Regions from separate parts of the Homo sapiens genome. Here all the other regions are linked to region 1. Evidence: promoter capture Hi-C in 16 types of primary human blood cells and fetal thymus (Javierre and others, 2016). All regions are on one chromosome and are shown on one strand. The core of a region is centred on a gene start or on the middle of the fragment in contact, and the rest is flanking DNA. Distances in the headings are between cores, read along the strand shown.

Region 1 (2,668 bases), core at 169-2,668:
ACACAAAGTTTAAGTTTGTGTAAACCTGTTGCATTGGCACAACACATGATTGTGACTCTTTCTTCAATTGATTTGTGCCCAGGGACAGTGCATTTACCTTTGATTACTGAAATCCTAGAAGGCAAGCACTTCCAAAAGAGTCCAGTTTCATCTGCATTGTAGATTTGTTCAGGCTGTAAATTCTCTCGTTCAATAAAATCTCGAAAGTTATTACAAAAATCTTCCACCGCAGTCTCATCTCCATTTAATCTTTCATTTCTAATGTTAATCTCTCTAATGCTGTGCCGCTGCTTAAAACGAGTTAGCCAACCGGCAGAGGGGTTAAAATCACCATCCATTCCCAAAGCATAAAAGAAGAACTCTGCCCTTTTTGCACAAATTGGTCCAGATATGGGATTCCCTTTTGCTCTTTGCTGGTTGAACCATTCCAGCATTGCCCTGTCCAATTCCTCATACATGGATGGCTTCATAGATTTCCTCTTGGCCAAAAGACTTGTGGAATCAGAACTGCTTGCATAAGTTATAATCTTTTCCTTATTTTTTCTTATATCCCGAACTGTTGTTTCACCAATTCCATAAATCACTGCCAGTTGTTTGGAAGAACCTCCGTCTTCAAGTTTCTTTATTATATCAAGCTTATCTTTAATAGTCAACACCACACGCTTCCGTTTCCCTGACATAGCGAGGTTCTGGGACTCACCCCACACTCACAATGTAGCAATCCACAAAATCCTTCCTTCTCTTACACAGGCTCACTTCAACAGTCTTAACACACTCAGTCTTTCATCCTTACCAGCAACCTGGTGGCCCTGATCCCCTCCCGGGCTGGGGTTGGCTGGCAAATAGACTGCAGAAGAAGGTGAAAGAGGAGGAAGTTTGAGAGAACAGGCCTTTCTTTAACTTATACGGGCAGTAGCGGAGGCCCCATGTCACCGCGGATAATCCGGATTAAAAGCATGTGTTTTATTACCCCAGCAGCCGTGAGAAAGACTATACCCCCATTGTGGCCACGAACCTCCTGCACGTCCAGATCCCGGGTAACCGCGCGTCACTAACCCCTGCCACACCCCAAAGTTACGACAGAGAGCCGAAGAGCCTAGGAGTCAAGGACTGGCACCCTTCCTCAGGGGAACGGATATATTAGATTCCTTCCCCAGCAGCAGGGCCCTCCCGCCGCGCAGCCCCAGTTTCCCGCGCCAGCTTTAGCCGGGACAGTCCTCCCAGTCCCTCAAAACCCGCCAGGCCCCTCTCCCCACCTCTCTTGCAACCAGGACCCGCACAGCTCCCTGACTATCGCGCGGCAGTCGCTCCGCCCCTAGCCACGCTCCCGGAAGATGATCCCTCCCGCCGCCTGGCCCCACCCCTCGCCCCACCCAGAGGCGGGACTTCCCTTGGTCCCCGGAAGGGGGGGAGGAGCATCGCTTGTCCTGAGCTGGTTGCCGGGGCAGGGGCGGAGGCGGAGGCAGAGGTGGAGGCGCTTTGAAAGGTGAGAGCGCGAGGGCGGTGCGGGGCTGTCTCCCGGCTGGGACTCGCTCGCGCTCCCGGTGCTAATGGTTTATGAGAGGGGCGGGGGAAGCCGTGCCTCCTCGCGGACTAAGAGAAAAATTCCCGCGGGCGCTCTTTGGGTGGGCCGGAGAACGCCCCTCAGCCCTTTGCGCCTCTAACCCTCCTCAGCTGAGCTGCAGTGGGCGCGGTGCCCGTTATTTCCGCCTTGGGGAGGTGCTTGGAACTGATGTAGGGAGCTCGGTTGGTGATTTCTCGGGTTTCTGGCCTTTCCAGACCCTTGTAATTGTTTTCTCGGTGCAGAGCTCTTTTGGGGTCTGGGGGTTTCCGTCGTCCTGCGCGCGTCATCGCGAAGCTTGGCCTGAGGGTCCGGTTTCCTAGCTACTGTGCCCCTCCCTCCTGGAGGCAGAGTGACGGACTAGTGGGCTAGCGGGCGCTGGGTTCCTGCGTCCCGCCAAAGAGGTTTGTAATCATGAAAGTCACCCTTCCGGGTGTTAATTCCTGAGAGGATCTATTCCACTGTCTACCACTCATTCCTGCTGCATTAACCTTCATTGTTAACGGATTTTAATGAATAATATAGTTATCCCGGATACCATGCTGGCAGGATCCACTTTGCGAAATTGTGGACTGTTGGACTGTGATTCTAAGTGGGGGAAATAGGCTTTCCTCTCTTTATGTTTATTTTCTTATATCCTATTTCTGTCATGTTCTGTCTTGTTTTCCTGCCAATAGAAGAACTATGATAAATTTATTCATAGCAGTGTGATAAGAACTTGATCTTAATCATACACTGTAGCCCTCAAATCGTGTATTATGCTGGCTTGTTTTTGGTGTCCCTAGTAATTTCATCAGATTGTGAGCTCCTTGGGAGCAGAGACCATGTTTATTTGAAATGGTGGCAGCACAGTTCCTAGCAGGTGCTTGCATTTTGGTAGATATTCAATAATTATTTTTCGGCTTATTAATCTTTGCTCTCCAAACTGCCATATAAAAGAAAACATCGAAGAGGAGTGATGTTTTACACCCAAGAATGGATCCCTCCTGGTAGAATTTCAAATAATGACCTGGGGTTCCACTGCCTTTCAAATCTGTAAAGTGTTAACTACCACCTGCATTGTTTATACAGCAAGTAGGTGATTTCTAGAATGAATCTTTTCTTGAG
Region 2 (2,668 bases), core at 115-2,614, 1.9 Mb after region 1:
CAATATCTAAGTGTCCACTGTAGGCTGCTCGATGAAGAGGGGTATACTCATCTTCATCCCTAGTGTTCACGTGAGTGGCCTTTTCAGAAAGGAGTCTCCGCACTGTGGTAAGCTGAGAAGAAAAAAAAGAAATCTTTCAACTCAACTCAAACCAAAACAATAACTAAAACAAAATTGTCTTGTGGTGTTAGATTTAATTAAGTTGAATAAAAACTTACTTGTTAGTAGATGACTTTAAAATGAAAATAATTTAAGATCTCTTTTTGGGGAGGAGAGGACTACTGATTTAAGAATGAACAAGTTAGTGTTAACTACACTTTGTTGCTTCTAAGAATGAGATTCTCTGAATATCAAACCATACATTTACTCCTGGTCCAACTAAGGTTTATTGCATAAAAGCTTCAGTCCAATGAATAACATAGGCTTTCTGTTTAATATTTTATGTGTTATCTGTGAAGAAAACATAACTGCTTGATTTTTCTGTAGGATTATCACACCAATATACACACTGTATGAAACTTTTAAAAATAAAACTTTTAACAGAAGAATAAAGTATTAATAAGGAATTCTAGGGATTCAAGAGCTCAATTCCTTCTCAATACAACCTTAGAAACAACCTTTTAGGTTGTAATTTTCAGTTTGTTCTATGGGCCTCTGGTTAAATGTGGCATGCTCTTGGGTTAAAAAGCTATTTAAAATGCGAGACCCTTTTAGTTATTAGTTTACTAACACAGACATGGGGAAACTTAGTAAAATGAGGTGGAAGTGGCCAAGCAGAGGGAATAGGCTTTTGATGTTCATTCCACTTCGATGATCCTGGGCAAATTAATATTCCTGAATCTCAATTTCTTACTCTATAAAAGAGAAGAATATTACTTATAGGGATACATGATGATTAAATAAAATAATGTAATAAGGTACCTGGTATAGTTAGTTTTTAATAAATGTTAGTTTCCATCCTCTCTTTCCTAAATGATCCTAATGACTTTATATAAATGATTTTAAAATATAGATGATTGCTTGCTATCTTTATAGATAATTATCCTTAAACCCCCAAATAATACCTAGCATGACACTTTGCAGCTTAATATGTGCTTTCATGTACATTGTCTCATTTGGTCCTCACAATCAAGAGATAGGTATGATGGCCATAACAGTAAAGGCAGGTCTTCTGGCTTGAACCCAGTGCTTTTCCTACTGTCACACTTCCCTCTGTAATTTTTTTTTTTACCCGATTTTTTTCAGCAGCCCAAAGAAGCAATCTGCTTGGGTCTTTTTCCATTTTTTTTTCTTGCAATCGATACCACTCTTCATTTTTGTCATCTTGCTCCTCATCTTCATCAGAATTGCCTACCCAAAGACTTTGAGTACCAGTAGGAATAAGGTGTCCATGTGTTTCCAACAATTCAAGTTGGTTAAAGTGTTCAGAAAAATCCAAGGAATTCTCTTGGTCTGGTATTCCATCATCATTTCCTTTTTCTTTTTCCATTTTTTACTACTATTCTAAATAAAAAGCATTTCAAATGCCAGGATATAAATCTTTCTAGAGATGAATTATGACTGCTTTGTTCATCAAGATCTGAAAACACAAATACAAAAGTTATTAGTAAAACAATAATTCAGGCTTTATCAACTGCATAGATAAGTCTTGCAAACATATACAATTAAACCCTGTCTAAACTCTTGTTTTTCTCATGATATCCCTTACATACACTAAATACTGATGCTGACAGAAAACAACAAACTATGATCTAATAGTGGTCTAATGCTTCTTACTTTTGTTGTTTTCTTCTAAGTCAATTATATTATTATAACTATTATTTTTAATCTACTGGTTTAGGTATGATGGTGTTATGCTAACAGTGATGAATGCTTAAAGGTTTTGAAGTATAACTAATACAATGAAGACAGGTGCATTCAAGATTTTTATAAACTAGACACACAGATAATATAGAGCAGAAATAAAAACTTCTAATTCCTAAAAATACTATTTCGAAGAATCAGGGATTCTTGAAGATGGAATAGCCCCCAAAAGGACATCTGTTCCAATCTGTCATCGGTACATATATCTTTATCACAGCATCTACACTAATTATCCTATTTCTACTTTGATAATTTCAGGCCTAGGAAAATTCACTGCTTTAAAAAGTAGTCCTGTTTATTGATAGGCAACTATAGTTCTTAGTTGGGTCCTTGTTTTCAACTGAATTTTGGCTGTCATTCATTCCTTCATTCAACTAATATGAATAGAATGTCTGGTATGTGCCAACTTCTGGGTACTGGGATTCAATAATGAGCAAGATCCATGTCTTCACCTCAGGAAGCTTACTCTAGTGTAGGTGACTGGCAAAGACATCATGTGTCTGGCAAAGACAACATGATAAGTACTACTACAAGACCTTGTCTAGAAACCATGAGTATACAGGAGGTTCATAATTCCCCTAGTCCTAAGGGATTAAAGAAGGCTTCCTGAAGGAACTGATGTTTATTCTGCTAAGCTGCCATATTAATTTTTAAACCAATATCAGCTTAAAGGGTTACACAACATATAAACCTTAATCAATTAAAGAAAAGGAGAATAACCAATAGATAATTTACAAATACGAATTCCCAGCCTCTCAACTCTATTTGTTGAAATATAATCAGTCTTTCAAGGCTCTTCTCTGAT
Region 3 (2,668 bases), core at 93-2,592, 1.8 Mb after region 1:
TGTTATGCCTACAGAAAATAAATTTGCGTTAGCCATATGAATTTAAGAATGTTTTCATTAAAAATCAAGTATAGGCCAGGCGCGGTGGCTCACGCCTATACTCCCAGCACTTTGGGAGGCCGAGGCGGGCGGATCCCGAGGTCAGGAGATCGAGACCATCCTGGCTAACACGGTGAAACTCTGTCTCCACTAAAAATAAAAAAAAATTAGCCAGGCTTGGTGGCGGGCGCCTGTAGTCCCAGCTACTCGGGAAGCTGAGGCAGGAGAATGGCGTCAACCCAGGAGGCGGAGCTTGCAGTGAGCCCAGATCGCGCCACTGCACTCCAGCCTGGGCGACAAAGCGAGACTCCGTCTCGGAAAAAAAAAAAAAAAAATCAAGCATTGTGTGTAAAAGCTTCTATAAAAGTGGCTTCCGGGTGGCGCTCTCTGCAGGGCCACAGCCTCAGTTTGGAGACTAGATGGAGGATGTTAGGTGTTCTGGCTAGGCCCATCAACCTAGTAACATTTCCTCCTGCACAGTAAAACCTTTCATAATGCTTCTGGGGTTTTTTGTTTGTTTGAAAAACAGAAATTAGAAATCAAATATTTTATTTGAAATTAGACATTTCAGTGACTTTTTTCCACTCTTACTTTTAATTAAAAGAAAAAGCTATAAATGCACAAATTACTTGTTTAAACGAAATAAAGGAAAAAGTGTATTGGCTTCTCTTTTTATGCAATTCAAGAATCCAGCCATTTATTCACATTCTTCTCCCTCTTCAGTTAAATAAGACATCACAGATAGAGCCTAACATTGTGTCTGGCACGTGGCCGGTAGGCATTTGGGAAATATTACCCTGCTTGATTGCTTCCTTCCACCACTCCCGATTTTCTCTTAAGCCTCCGAATGTTCCAATTAAGCCATCTTTTTACCTGAAGAATGCCCGAGGTCTCATGCATATCAATTTTCTTTGTGCCCTCTTACCTCGGTAGGGTTGAGACCACAAACTGCCCCTACTATACCCTTATTTGATGTGGGAGGAGGGGATACTAGGTAGTAAGGTGTGTCTGGATGAATGGAAACCAGTCGTGACTTCGCAAATTGCTGGTTGAAGGTCATACGTGATCATTGTGCATCTCATACATGCACAAACATTCACAGGGGACTGGATTGTTCTTATTTTAAAAGAGCCATTGGTAGGGTAGAGGAGAAGGAAAGGGAGGAAAGGAGTTATGGGAAATTAATAAATTTACTCACTTGTTCATTTAACAAATTGGGAAACAAATGCAAAACACGGTTTCTACCTTCAAAAATCTACGAGAGAAACAGATAGTGGGGAGGGAAGGGATCATGGAAGGCTTTGAGGAGGTGGCTCCTGGAATAATTAGGAATCATTACAATGCAGAGGAAGAGGGCTGAGGTGTTAGTTGCCACAGAGGGAGCAGCACTGCAGAGGCCAGGGAGGGAAGACTGGGGCAGTAGGCGAGGAATTACTAGGGTATAGTTTGGCGAAGGAGATGGTGTTTATCCTGCAGGCTGTCGAGAAAGTCCTTGGAAGGCTTTAACAAAGGAAGGAAGCGATATTCATTTTTAAAATGAATTCTTATTTTTATTACGTATAAGGAGGGTGAGTATATGGATGGGGACACGGGGGGGCTGCGGAATGCTGACTGTTAATGTAGGCTCTGGTTAATGGGTGTGTTTGGTTATGGAAGTTCATCAAACTGTATGCTTACATATGTACTTTTATGGGTGGACATTATACTTTAGAAAAAAGTTTCTAAGAAAAAATCATTCTGTCATTAGTAAAGAGTGAGTTGGGTAAAAATAGGGTAAGAGTAGGGGTGTGGTGGTGTGCAGTTGGAAAGTTATTGCTGTAATTCAGATGTGAAATAAAGAGGGCCTGAACTGAGACAGTAGCTGTGAGGATGAGGAAGAAAATTAAAGGAGGATAGATTCAGAGAGATTTAGGAGGCTGGTTTCTTTCTCTGGGAAGCCTTTCTGGATACCCACAAACATATATCCAGGGTAGTTTACATGGCCCTCCTGTGCACTCTCACACATGCTGCACCTTTCAGAACATCATGGGACATCCAGAGATCATGACTGTTTCATTCATAATTCCATCCTGAACACCCACCACGGAACCAGGTTTCTAGTAGTGAATATTTGTTGAATGAATGTATGCCCTTAATGTATCACCGAAATTATCTGTTGGTATCTCTTTCCCCACTACAAAATGAGAAGACATCCGGAGATCTTGGCTATGTGAATGACTTGCTATGACCTTGAAATGTCCCTTAAGCTTTCAGTGGAAAATATTGTACATGTATTAAGCATAGTCCTGGCAACAGGCATCAGAAATGATATCAAATTAGACTGCTGTCATTGGCCAAACCTGGGATGAGTGCTCATTCTTGAAGCAATCACTGTGGTCAGGGAATGGGTACTCTCTTTAGACCCTCCTCTGGAGCTAGAATCAGTCCCATCTGAATAACAGATGTGGAATAATCTGTTATTCTTGAATAACAGTGCGGGGAGAGAAGTTACCCAAAAGAAAAAATGAGGTGGTGTTACCTGAAAAAGAGGGAAAGGATGCTAGGTGGGCAAAAACATGTCTGCTACCCATGTGGAAGGAGATATTACTATTCTTACAATGAAGAGGCTGGACTAAATGAACTCTGAATC
Region 4 (2,668 bases), core at 169-2,668, 1.8 Mb after region 1:
TCATGAGGAGACATCAGACAAACCCAAATCGAGGGACGTTATACAAAATAACTAGTCTGTACTCTTCAAAATTGGAAGGTCATCAGAGTCAAGGAAAATTAAAGAGCTGTTCCAGATTGAAGGAGAGACTATAGAGACTGGACAACTAAGTGCAGGACAGTAGAGCCTTTTCCTACAGAGGTGACAATTGAGACAAATGAAGAAAACTGTTTCTTAATTTTGATGATTGTCATATGCTTCTGTAAGATAGAGACCTTGTTTATAGAAAATATGCACTGAAATAGTCAAGGGCACTGGGGCATCATGCCTGTAACTTATGCTCAAATAGTTCAGCAAAAAAGATAGAAAATAATAAAGCAAATATGGTAAAAGGTCAATAATTTGGGATTCTGGGTGAAGGGTATATGAGAGAGTTGTTTGTACTGTTCTTGTCACTTTTCTATAAGTTTGATTTAAGTAAAAAATAAATGCTCTTAGGGTGAGAATTCTCTGTTTCATATAAGATCCTTTAGAGTAAAAGAGAAACTCACTAAAAGAAAAGCAAAGAGATAGCACTTAGCTAGTTCAGTTAGTTTGCATGACATAACAACAAGAATGTTGGATGTTGAACTGAGTGAGCGAGGGAGGTAAGAAGGGTAGATGGAATGGACAGGAAAAGCCCTACAATAGCCTGGGGGTGCTGAGGTCTGGTAGAAGAGTAAACATTCCTGGGAAATAGGAATCGTTGAAAGATTTTTAAGAACAGGGATGTCAATTCTAATTTTTCTGGAATGTTGGGATGTGATGTAATCATGCCTTGGCCCCAAACAGTCTGCAAAGTCAGCTACACACACATGCCCTTTGGGAAATGAGGCAACTGTGGATGTCCCACCAGGTGATGCAGCACCGGAGGAAGTGGTCCTCTCTGAAATGCACAGAAGGTGGCAAGAATTCACAGGAAGCAGGAATTTGGGGCCATAGGTCACTTGGAAAAACCTAACCCTCCAAGAATCCCCTGAAATATAGGGAACACTGGATACCAACATTTATGTGATGAGGTGGGAGTCAGTTTATCTTAAATCTTAAGGAAAAGATGACCCCAATGAGTTGCAAAATATGCAGACACCAATGGCTGTTATAGGGGTAACAAGAAGTACTGTATTTTAAAATTAATATTAGAAATGTGGAAAGGAAATAAAATATTGATTAAAATACTAAGATTAATATTTTCTTCGGTGCTTTGGAGAAATGCATGGCAATTTGCAAATATATCATGGGAGGGTATGTTCAGACTGTAGATATAAAGCAGAACTAAAATTATAGATTAAAGGAGTTCAAAAAGTATCCTGTACTTACCAGCTGAACATCAGGATCAACATATTGCTGTATAGCTCTAACAAATGCAGCTGGATTTTCTTGTACTTTTATGCTACATAAAAAGATTAATTTTGAAGCTATGTAACTTCCTTCTTAGTAGCACATACTTATATGGCATTAGAAATAATACAAATAAATTTTCATAACAAACTAGTAGTTTTAGGAAAAATTATTAGAGAAAATAACCTTTTGAGTCTAAAATTGTTTCTTAAACTACAAAATATGACAAAAACATTTCGCAATAATTTTTACAGTGTAAAAAATGGTTTGGTAGAAAATCAGATCTTCTCAATTGTCCAGAATCCCTATAATCAATAATTCTGTTGTTCAAAATGGGGTTGAAAGTGAACTTTTGAAATCCCAAGTCTCACAGTATCAAATGTCTGAAAGAGTGTTCAAGCTCAACCAGGATTAAGATTTCTGTAAGAGTGAATTGCTATAGGAATCTAAAAATGAATGTTTCAGAAAACATCAGGTTAATGAGACCAAGATATTCAGCTAATTTGCATGATTTAGACAAAAATATCTTTATTTTCCTTAGTGGTTGCTTGTCTGGAGCCTGGAATGTCTAGCCTTAATCAGCGCACAAGTACTTAACAATTATCTGTTCTGTGCTTACATTATGTTAGGGGCCAGCAGCTCCAAAAGTAATTCTCACACACATAGGAATTTGTAAAACTAGTTTCTTTATGTAGAATCAGCCTCTTTTATGTGTATATAAGTGAACTGTCCCAATGCCCAGCGGCTTTTTAAAACTCGCCCAGCAGGTGACAGGACCATCAACCCCATGACTGCAGATACTAACAGACCTATGTGACTGGCTGGCCGAACCGTCTCAGCAACTAGATGGTCCTGACTCATCCAATTCAAACTCTCGCACTCTGACTCTGCTGCACTTACAGTCCACTCCTAAAATCATCAGGTGAATGTTTTAGAAGACAGAAGCTATGCATATAAATCTAACAGGTAAATGGATACTTCATGGAAAAAAGAAGGTTGAAATAAAATACGAGCTTTCAAATAAAACAGGCCAAGGACAGAACATAGCAATGGGCTTGTTCCAGAATTCACATGAGAAAGAGCCTGTGATGTCAGCCCAGGATCTGCGGACTGTGGCTTCTTTCATAATCATTTCCTGCTTTATTAGCTCATGGGTTTAGAGAAAGTAGAGCGGGTGAAACTCAATCCAGGCTATTTATTAACAGATTTGATAAGAGGAGAGTTCTAAACAATGGTGTTAAATGAGACTTTGGGATTAATACTTGTGCTGCTGATGCAATTAATTAGTAACTATGTGTTTAAAGAATAACTC
Region 5 (2,668 bases), core at 90-2,589, 1.8 Mb after region 1:
GACTTATTTTTATTAAAAGGTAAAGAGTCATTTAATAGGGAAGAAAGTTGTGTCAGTTTGGGTCCCTTAAGAAGCACACACCAAGACAGAATTAAGCATTCAGAAGATTTACTGGGAGAAACACCTGTGAAGAATACTGGTGAGAGGAAGTAGGAGTGACTAGGGAGGGCCTTAAGACCTCAGTGCTAATCTGAAATACATGAAACGGAGTGGGAAGGAAAGAGGATCAGTAGAAAAAGCTCAAAACTTTAGTGCAGTTCTTAGAAAACCTTGGTCAAGACAAAGTGGGTTCCCCTACTGTGTTAAGTCTATTCTCACACTGCTGTAAAGAACTACCTGAGACTGGGTAATTTATGAAGAAAAAGAAAAGAGATTTAATTGACTCACAGTTCCACAGGCTGTGCAGGAGGCATGGCTGGGGAGGCCTCAAAAAACTTACAATCATGGCAGAAGGCCAAAAAGGGAGCAAGGACATCTTCACATGGCAGCAGGAGAGAGAGAGAGAGAGAAGGGGGAAGTGCTACACATTTTCAAACAACGAGATATGGTAAGAACTCACTCACTATCATGAAAACAGCAAGGGGGCAATCCACCCTCACGGTTTAATCACCTCTCACCAGGCCACTCCTCCAACACATGGGGATTACAATTCAACATAAGCTTTGGGTGGGGACACAGAGCTAAACACAGCATATTACCTATCAGAGACTAATAGTGGAGTCCCATGTTGGGCAGAAACAACCCAGATCTATTACCTCTCCTGTGCTCAGTAATGGGCTAGAATCAGTCTGGGGAGGGTATGGTCTCATCACCCCTGTGGTGGATCCTGAAGCTGTAGCATTTAGAGGCTGTCAGCCAACTATGCTCCTTGCAGAAGGTTCTTTTAAAGGATAATCTGATGGGCCACTCCATGGTGGCCACAGAAATGTATTTAAAGTATACTTTCTTCCAGAGTCTCTCCCTCAGTTCTCAAAATAAAAGAAAAACTACAAAATCCTTTCTATAAAATAGGAACTGGTAGATTGTTTATTTCTAGAGACAATATTAAGCTTTCCCTTAAGTAGAATTGTAGAATTCAGAATCTAGTACAGTGCCTGGCACATAATAGAAACCCATAACTATTTGTTAACTAAATTGTGCCATTTGATTCATTTCCTCTCCTCAGGTCTAATAAGATGATACCCTTTATTAAGGCCAGATACTTCAGATTTGACATTTCTAATCCTTACAATAACTCTACAATGCAGACATTGTTAGACATTTTTACAAGTAGATACACTGAGGCTCAGAGAGGTTAAGTAACTTGCCCAATGTCACACGACTATAAGTGGTGGTTCTAGGATTCAAATCCAGTGCTGCTCTGAAGCCTGGCACAGGCTCCCTTTCCTCTTTGTCCTTGGTAGCCTAAGGAAAACTAATTAATGCATGTGAGAGGTGGCAATCACATAACGTGAAGCTGAAATAGGTCTCATATATTATCTAAACCAGTATTCCTCAGCCCTGGCTGAACATCAGAACCATTTCGAGAACTTTTAAAATATTCGGATGATCAGGCCCCATCTCAGACCATTTAAATCACTATTTTGAGAGGTAGACCCAGGCATCTCTATTTTTTTGTTCTAAAGCTTTTAAACATGGGAACTTCTAATCTTCTCAAGATTAGGCACCACTGGTCTTGTCCAAGCCCTCTCATATTACAGATTGGGTAACTGAGTCCCAGAAAGTGAAGTTATCACATCTGACAACCAAACGTGCTGGAACCAGAGCTCATATGAAGATTTCTTAGTCCCATGTTGCCCTCTAGGAGTTTACCTGAAATTGTTTGTTGAAGCCTATGACACTGCCATGATGAAGGACTCTATTCACACAGCAGTCCTTGTGTGCCCTCTGGTGGGTTAAAGGGGTAAGAAGTCATTTCCTGGGGCAGTACTTAAAAGGGTGGGTGGGCGCTCTGCAGAAGGTTGTATTGCCTAATCAAAATGTTTCGTGTGGATTTATACAAGCTGGCTGGTTAGGTAGTGGGGATTTATATCACCGTTCTACTTTGAAGGAAGAAAACAACAAGATAAACAAAAACAAAACCCACCACCTTGAATTGGATCAGTGCCTTGTCTCCAAAGACTTGCTATATAATGCCATCTTTTTTTTTTTTTTTTTTTTTTCTGAGACAGAGTTTTGCTCTGTCGTCCCAGGCTAGAGTGCAGTGGTGCAATCTCGGCTCACTGCAAGCTCTGCCTCCCGGGTTCACGCCATTCTCCTGCCTCAGCCTCCCGAGTAGCTGGGACTACAGGTGCCCGCCATATAATGCCATCTTTAAATCCCATAAGGCACTACCTCACATTAGTGCTCTGGGAGAAATTTTTTAAATCTTAGAGTATCTTTTATCAAGGGTGTAGACTCTTTTGGTTCATCTTACAGGTTTTGCAAACAAACCTGAGGACAAATTCTAGCTCCACAATTTATTAATCTCATAAACTTCAGTGAGTCACGTGGTATCTTTAATCCCCAGCTTTACCATCTGAAATGGTCATTATAACCTAATTTATACAGTTCTTGTGGAGATTAAATGTGTATATGTAGGCATGGCACTGGCCCTGAAACTTATTAAGTCCCCTCCACCCTCATGCTTCACAAAATGGTTATCCTATTATTGGTAGACCCCTGTTGG
Region 6 (2,668 bases), core at 50-2,549, 1.3 Mb after region 1:
AAAAGGACCTGTACATTTTCTGACTTTCAAAAATATTTCAAATTTTATTGCATGATAATTCAGAATGTTTGAATTTTTTTCATTTTGTTTAAAGAAGATATTGATATTTTCTATTCACACTGATATATTGTCAAATTTTGTGATTGATTCTTTGGCAGGATAGGTTGTCAAGGACCTGACATATACTTGGGATGCAGTGACCGTGGTGACCATAGAGCCAATACAATAAGCCTTAGCAGTCATATTGTAACCGAGCTCACTCAAGCAAAGCTATCTTTAGTAGGGACTTTCCCTTCCAGAGAGCATGCACATTTTGATTTTACCTGTCCTCAAACTGATCTTTTGCTCATTACAATAGTAAAAAACACACCCATGGGTGGAGATTTAAGATGCTAATGAGACATGGGATGTATGAATAAGCATGTACAGCTACTGTACATGTACAGAAGACCATCAGGACCTGCTTACTAGTAACACCTGTTACCACCTCCTTATGAATAACCATGTAAAACTCCCATAATGGGGGTTTCTCCAGCAATAATCAATGCTGTCTCACCCTAACAAGCAGCCCTCCCTGAATTCCTTCACTCTCAGTGTGTACAGTCTATTCTGCACTTAACTTTCAAAATATTATTTTTCTTTCACAATAAATTACTCTATGCTGTTCTTCTTTTGCTGTATGTCTCTTGTTTAATTTATTTTAAACTAAGAAGAACCAGAGGTATCACAACAGCTGTCAACAGCACCTGAAGAGAGGAAGTATTTTCTATCATCTGGTTTGTCAATTCTACCTTATTGTTAATGTTATCTAAGTTTTTCATATCCTTAGGTTTCTCTATTTTTTCTGGCTTGGATGAATAAGGTGTCTATATTAGTTCATTCTCACTTTGCTATAAAGAATATACCCAGGTAATTTATAAAGAAAAGAGGTTTAATTGGCTCACAGGTCTGTGGACTGTACAGGAAGCATAGCAGTGTCTGGTTTGGGGGAGGACTCAGGAAACCTACAATCATGATGGAAGGCAAAGGGGAAGTAGGCACATCTTTCATGGTGGGAGCAGGAGGAAGGCCGGCGGGAGGTGTTACACACTTTTAAACAACAAGATCTTGTGAGAACTCTATCACAAGAACAGCACTAGGGGGATGGTGCTGAACCATTCATGAGAAACCACCGCTACAAGCAAATCACCTCCCACCAGAGCCCACCTCCAAAACTGAGGATTTCAATTCTATGTGAGATTTGAGTGGGGACACAGACCCAAACCATATCAATCCTCCCCTGGCCCCCTCCTAAATCTCATGCCCTTCTCACATTGCAACATATAATCATGCCTTCTCAAATGTTCCCCAAAGTCTTAACTCATTTCAGCATTAACGGAAATGTCCAAAGTCCAAAGTCTCATCTGAGACAAGGCAAATCCCTTCTGACTATAAGCCTGTAAAATCAAAAACAAGTTAATTACTTCCAAGATAGAGTGGGGGTACAGGCATTGGGTAAAGACTCCTGTTCCAAAAGGGAGAAATCGGCCAAAAGAAAGAAGCTAGAGACCCCAAGCAAGTCTGAAACCTAGCAGGGCAGACATTAAATCTTATACTTCCAAAATAGGCTCCTTGGACTCCACGTCTCATATCCAGAGCACAATAGTGCATGGTGTGTACTCCCAAGGACTTGCATAGCTGTGCTCCTGTGTCTTTGCAGGGTTCAGCCCCTGCAGCTGCCCTCATGGGCTTGTGTTAAGTGCCTGCAGCTTTTCCAGAAGTAGGGTGGAAACTGCTGGTTGGTCTACCATTCAGGGATCTGGAGGAAAGTGATCCTTTTCTCACAACTCTGCTAGGCAGTACCCAGTGGGGACTCCGTGTGGGGGTTCCAACCTCACATTTCTGCTCTGTACCGCTATAGTGGAGGTTCTCTGTGAGACCCTTGCCCCTGCAGCAGACTCCTGCCTGCACATGCAGGCTTTTCCATACATCCTCTGAAATCTAAGCAGAAGCTCTCAACCCTCAATTCTAGCATTCTGTGCACCCTTGAACTTAACACCACGTGGAAGCCTCCAAGGCTTATGGCTTTCACACTCTGAAGAAATGGTCTGAGCTCTACCTGGGCCCCTTGAGCCACAGCTAGAGCTGGAGCAACTGGGATGCAGGCAGCAGTGTCCACAGGCTGTACAGGACAGCAGGGCTCTAAGCATGGTCCACAAAACCATTCTGTCCTCCTAGACATCCAGGCTTGTGATGGGAAGCATTGCCACGAAGGTCTCTGATATGCCTTCAAGATGTTTTTCTTAATATTTTGGCTACTAATACTTGTCTTCCTTTTAGTGATGTACATTTCTGCAGCCAGCTTGAATTCTTCCCCTAAAAATGTGCTTTTCTCTTCTGCTACATGGCCAGGCTGCAAATTCCTTGAACTTTTACATTTTGCTGCCCTTTTGTACTCTGCTTCACTGGAACTGGATATAAGTTCCACTTTCAGGTCATTTCTTTGTTCATGAATGTGAGCCTAGGCTGTTAGAAGCAGACAGGCCAGATCTTAAACTCTTTGCTGCTTAAAAATTCCTTCTGCCAGATACCCTAAATCATCACTCTCAAGTTCAAAGTTCCACAGATCCTTAGAAAGGGGCACAGTGCAGCCAACCTCTTGGCTAACACATAACAGAAGTAAACTTTG
Region 7 (2,668 bases), core at 75-2,574, 1.3 Mb after region 1:
ATTGGTTGAGAACCAGCAACCTATGGAGAACAGTGGTTTTCAAACTTTAGTGCATATTAGAATCACCTGGGGAGCTTGTTAAACCAGATTGCTGAGTCCTATCTTAGAGTTTCTAATTTGGTAGGTCTGGGAAGTGAGGCCCTAGAATTGGCCTCACCAATTCTGGAATTTTCTAACACGTTTCCAGGTGATACTGATTCTGCTGTTGCAAGGAGGGGAAGGACACTTTGAGAAACACTGATGTTTCATATCAAGTTCCCACAGGAGAATCACAATGGAGTTTTCTACATCCTTGCTACTTAAAGAATGGTCCATGACCAGCAGCCCTGACAATACCTGGGATTTTATTAAACATGCAGAATCTCAGGCCCCAGACCAAACTCACTGAATTGAAATCTGCATTTTAACATGATCCCCACAGGATTCAAATGTACATTTCTGTTTGAGAACCACTGTTCTGGGTTTCTGAAGCAAATCCATGCTGTATTTAGTAGATAACTCTCCTCTTGAGTAAATGACAGTTCTCCATTGGAAGCTCTTCACTTGCTCTTGGGCCCTGGCAGAGATAAAAAAAACTTGACCATAGGTGAGCATATGACCTGAGCCTCCCATCATGAGCTGGGTGATGACTGACCTAACAAGACACAAAGTGAGTCACACCTGCCAGCTCTCTGCCCTCAAGCAGAAATAAGACTGAAATGACCAAGATGGGACATGTTCTGAAGACACAAGTAAATCACATAAGCAGGTGACTTATAGTCCCCAGTATGCCTGCTCTTGCCACTCTGCTATCCTCTTCCAGTCTTCACATATAGCCTTGTAGGGAATTCTCTGGTAAGCAATTGATTGAGGAAGTAAAATTATCAAGCTCAGTTACAAATGGCTGTGCATAAGTGGCTACAACCATTAGCATGGGTCATGGTGGCATTATAACCTACACAGTATGTCCCTGAGCAATTCTGGAGAAGGGAAAAACCGTTCAAGGGGTAGAACTTTCAGTATCTCATCTTGTTATCCACTTCTCCTGGAAGAGGAACACCAAGAATAGCTAAGCCACTCTTGATGAAGACAAGATGAGAGAACTTGCTTTATTAGATATCAAGGTTTATTATAAAGCTGAAGTAATTAAGACAGTATTAGGTGCAGGCATGGAAAAAACATACTAATAGGGGCCAAGGCGGACAGATCACTTGAGCTCAGGAGTTCAAGACCAGTCTAGGCAACATGGCAAAACCTCATCTCCATAAAAAATACAAAAGTTAGCTGGATGTGGTGGTGTGTGCCTGTAGTCCCAGCTACTTGGGAGGCTGAAGTGAGATGATGACTTGGGCCCAAAAAGTCGAGGCTGCAGTTAGCCAAGATCACACCACTGCACTCCAGCCTGGGCAACAGAGCAAGATTCTGTCTCTCTCTGTCTCTGTCTCTGCCTGTCTCTCTCTCTATATATATAATACATAATTACATTATATATTTATATATTATATATAAGTATACATAATATATATGAAATATAAATAAAATATATTTTAGACTTTATATATATTCTATTTACATAAAATTATATATATGTTATATATTACAGACTATATATCTTTTATATCTTCTATATATATCTACATCTTTATATATGTATATGTATGTGTATACATGTATATATACACATACACAGTATGTATATGTATATGTATATATCTCAATAGAAATAAATAGTGAATCCAGAAGTAAACTTACCCAGTATGGATACTAATATATGGTAGAGGTGGCAGATTGGATAGGAAAGGAGTTTTCAATAAATAGTGCTTTAAAAATTGATATCCAAGTAGGAAAAAAATTATGTTAGATTTTTACCTCACCACATGCACAAAAATCAATTTCAGTTGTGTTAAAGTACTAAATGCTGAAAGACAATACTATACTGAGTATAGGAAATAATATATGAAACTATCTTTACTGCTTCAAATTAGAAAACAAGACATATAAAACACTAACCACAAAATGTTTGAAGAATTTAGCTACATTAGTGTAAAAATAACTCATCAAAAGACATCATAAAGTGAATTAAAAAACAAGCCACAGAATGGGAAAATATATTTATAGGGCATAAAGACAAATAAGATCCAGATACATAGAAAATACCTTTAAATTGTTAAGAAAAGACAGGTGACCCAATAGGAAGGTGGACAAATTATTGAAAAGGCACTTCACAAAGGAGGATATCCAAGTGGCTAAAAAACAAACAAATAAAAAGCTACAACCTTTTGGTAATCAGGGTAAAGAAAATTAAAACCAAATGAAATACCACTATATACCCATCAGATTTGCAAATATTAAAAGGTCTGACGTTAACAAGTGTTAATGAGGATGTGGAGCAAGTAGAATTCTCATCAATTGATGATAATAGTATATATTGGTAGAACTACTTTGGAAAATAGTTGAAAATTATCTAACAAAATTGAATATGTACTTGATCTATAACCCAGAAAATGCACTTTTGGGATTGATACCTGAAATATATATACACGTGTACATCAGGTTTTATGTATAAAAATATTCATTGCTTCCTTATTCAGAATAACTAAAATAGGAAACAACCCAGATGTCCATCAATAGAACAGTAAAAACTGAATTATGATTTATTAATTAGTAAAACACTACACAGCATCAAAAA

Evidence for each region. The method cuts DNA at HindIII sites, captures the fragments that hold promoters and counts their contacts. A CHiCAGO score of 5 or more calls a contact.
Region 2: a fragment that was not itself captured here is called in contact with the fragment with the promoter of CCDC82 in region 1 in 7 of 17 cell types (fetal thymus, naive CD8 T cells, total CD8 T cells and 4 more); the score reaches 16.1 in fetal thymus.
Region 3: a contact is called between a fragment that was not itself captured here and the fragment with the promoter of CCDC82 in region 1, in 1 of 17 cell types (fetal thymus). The highest score is 7.2, in fetal thymus.
Region 4: a fragment that was not itself captured here is called in contact with the fragment with the promoter of CCDC82 in region 1 in 1 of 17 cell types (monocytes); the score reaches 5.7 in monocytes.
Region 5: a fragment that was not itself captured here is called in contact with the fragment with the promoter of CCDC82 in region 1 in 1 of 17 cell types (fetal thymus); the score reaches 6.2 in fetal thymus.
Region 6: a contact is called between a fragment that was not itself captured here and the fragment with the promoter of CCDC82 in region 1, in 1 of 17 cell types (total B cells). The highest score is 6.5, in total B cells.
Region 7: a contact is called between a fragment that was not itself captured here and the fragment with the promoter of CCDC82 in region 1, in 2 of 17 cell types (erythroblasts and fetal thymus). The highest score is 5.6, in erythroblasts.

Annotation. Positions count from the first base shown.
Region 1 is chr11:96,388,662-96,391,329 of GRCh38, reverse strand. It overlaps CCDC82 (coiled-coil domain containing 82), which reads left to right and starts at 1,418. Exons shown (of 10, transcript NM_024725.4): 1 at 1,418-1,486. It overlaps JRKL (JRK like), which reads right to left and starts at 1,317. Exons shown (of 2, transcript NM_001261833.2): 1 at 1,257-1,317; 2 at 1-847. The coding sequence starts at 680. RefSeq lists a silencer at 1,245-1,504. The HindIII fragment of the contact is 1,223 bases long and covers 638-1,860 here.
Region 2 is chr11:94,495,515-94,498,182 of GRCh38, reverse strand. ANKRD49 (ankyrin repeat domain 49) reads right to left here. Exons shown (of 3, transcript NM_017704.3): 2 at 1,232-1,579; 3 at 1-112. The coding sequence starts at 1,489. It also overlaps a transcript of MRE11 not described here. Among named protein-coding and RNA genes, the nearest start is that of ANKRD49, 2.9 kb to the right of the region's middle. The HindIII fragment of the contact is 1,925 bases long and covers 402-2,326 here.
Region 3 is chr11:94,540,332-94,542,999 of GRCh38, reverse strand. No RefSeq gene overlaps it. Among named protein-coding and RNA genes, the nearest start is that of FUT4, 2.3 kb to the left of the region's middle. The HindIII fragment of the contact is 1,891 bases long and covers 397-2,287 here.
Region 4 is chr11:94,602,724-94,605,391 of GRCh38, reverse strand. PIWIL4 (piwi like RNA-mediated gene silencing 4) reads right to left here. Exons shown (of 20, transcript NM_152431.3): 13 at 1,336-1,408. The region is part of intron 4 of PIWIL4-AS1 (PIWIL4 antisense RNA 1); the gene reads left to right. Among named protein-coding and RNA genes, the nearest start is that of LINC02700, 34 kb to the left of the region's middle. RefSeq lists an enhancer at 2,266-2,485. The HindIII fragment of the contact is 3,104 bases long and covers 1-2,668 here.
Region 5 is chr11:94,622,531-94,625,198 of GRCh38, reverse strand. All of the region lies in intron 4 of PIWIL4-AS1 (PIWIL4 antisense RNA 1), which reads left to right. Among named protein-coding and RNA genes, the nearest start is that of LINC02700, 14 kb to the left of the region's middle. The HindIII fragment of the contact is 576 bases long and covers 1,052-1,627 here.
Region 6 is chr11:95,053,274-95,055,941 of GRCh38, reverse strand. No RefSeq gene overlaps it. Among named protein-coding and RNA genes, the nearest start is that of KDM4F, 5.2 kb to the right of the region's middle. The HindIII fragment of the contact is 3,470 bases long and covers 1-2,668 here.
Region 7 is chr11:95,071,157-95,073,824 of GRCh38, reverse strand. SRSF8 (serine and arginine rich splicing factor 8) reads right to left here. Exons shown (of 1, transcript NM_032102.4): 1 at 2,600-2,668. Among named protein-coding and RNA genes, the nearest start is that of SRSF8, 5.6 kb to the right of the region's middle. The HindIII fragment of the contact is 5,025 bases long and covers 1-2,668 here.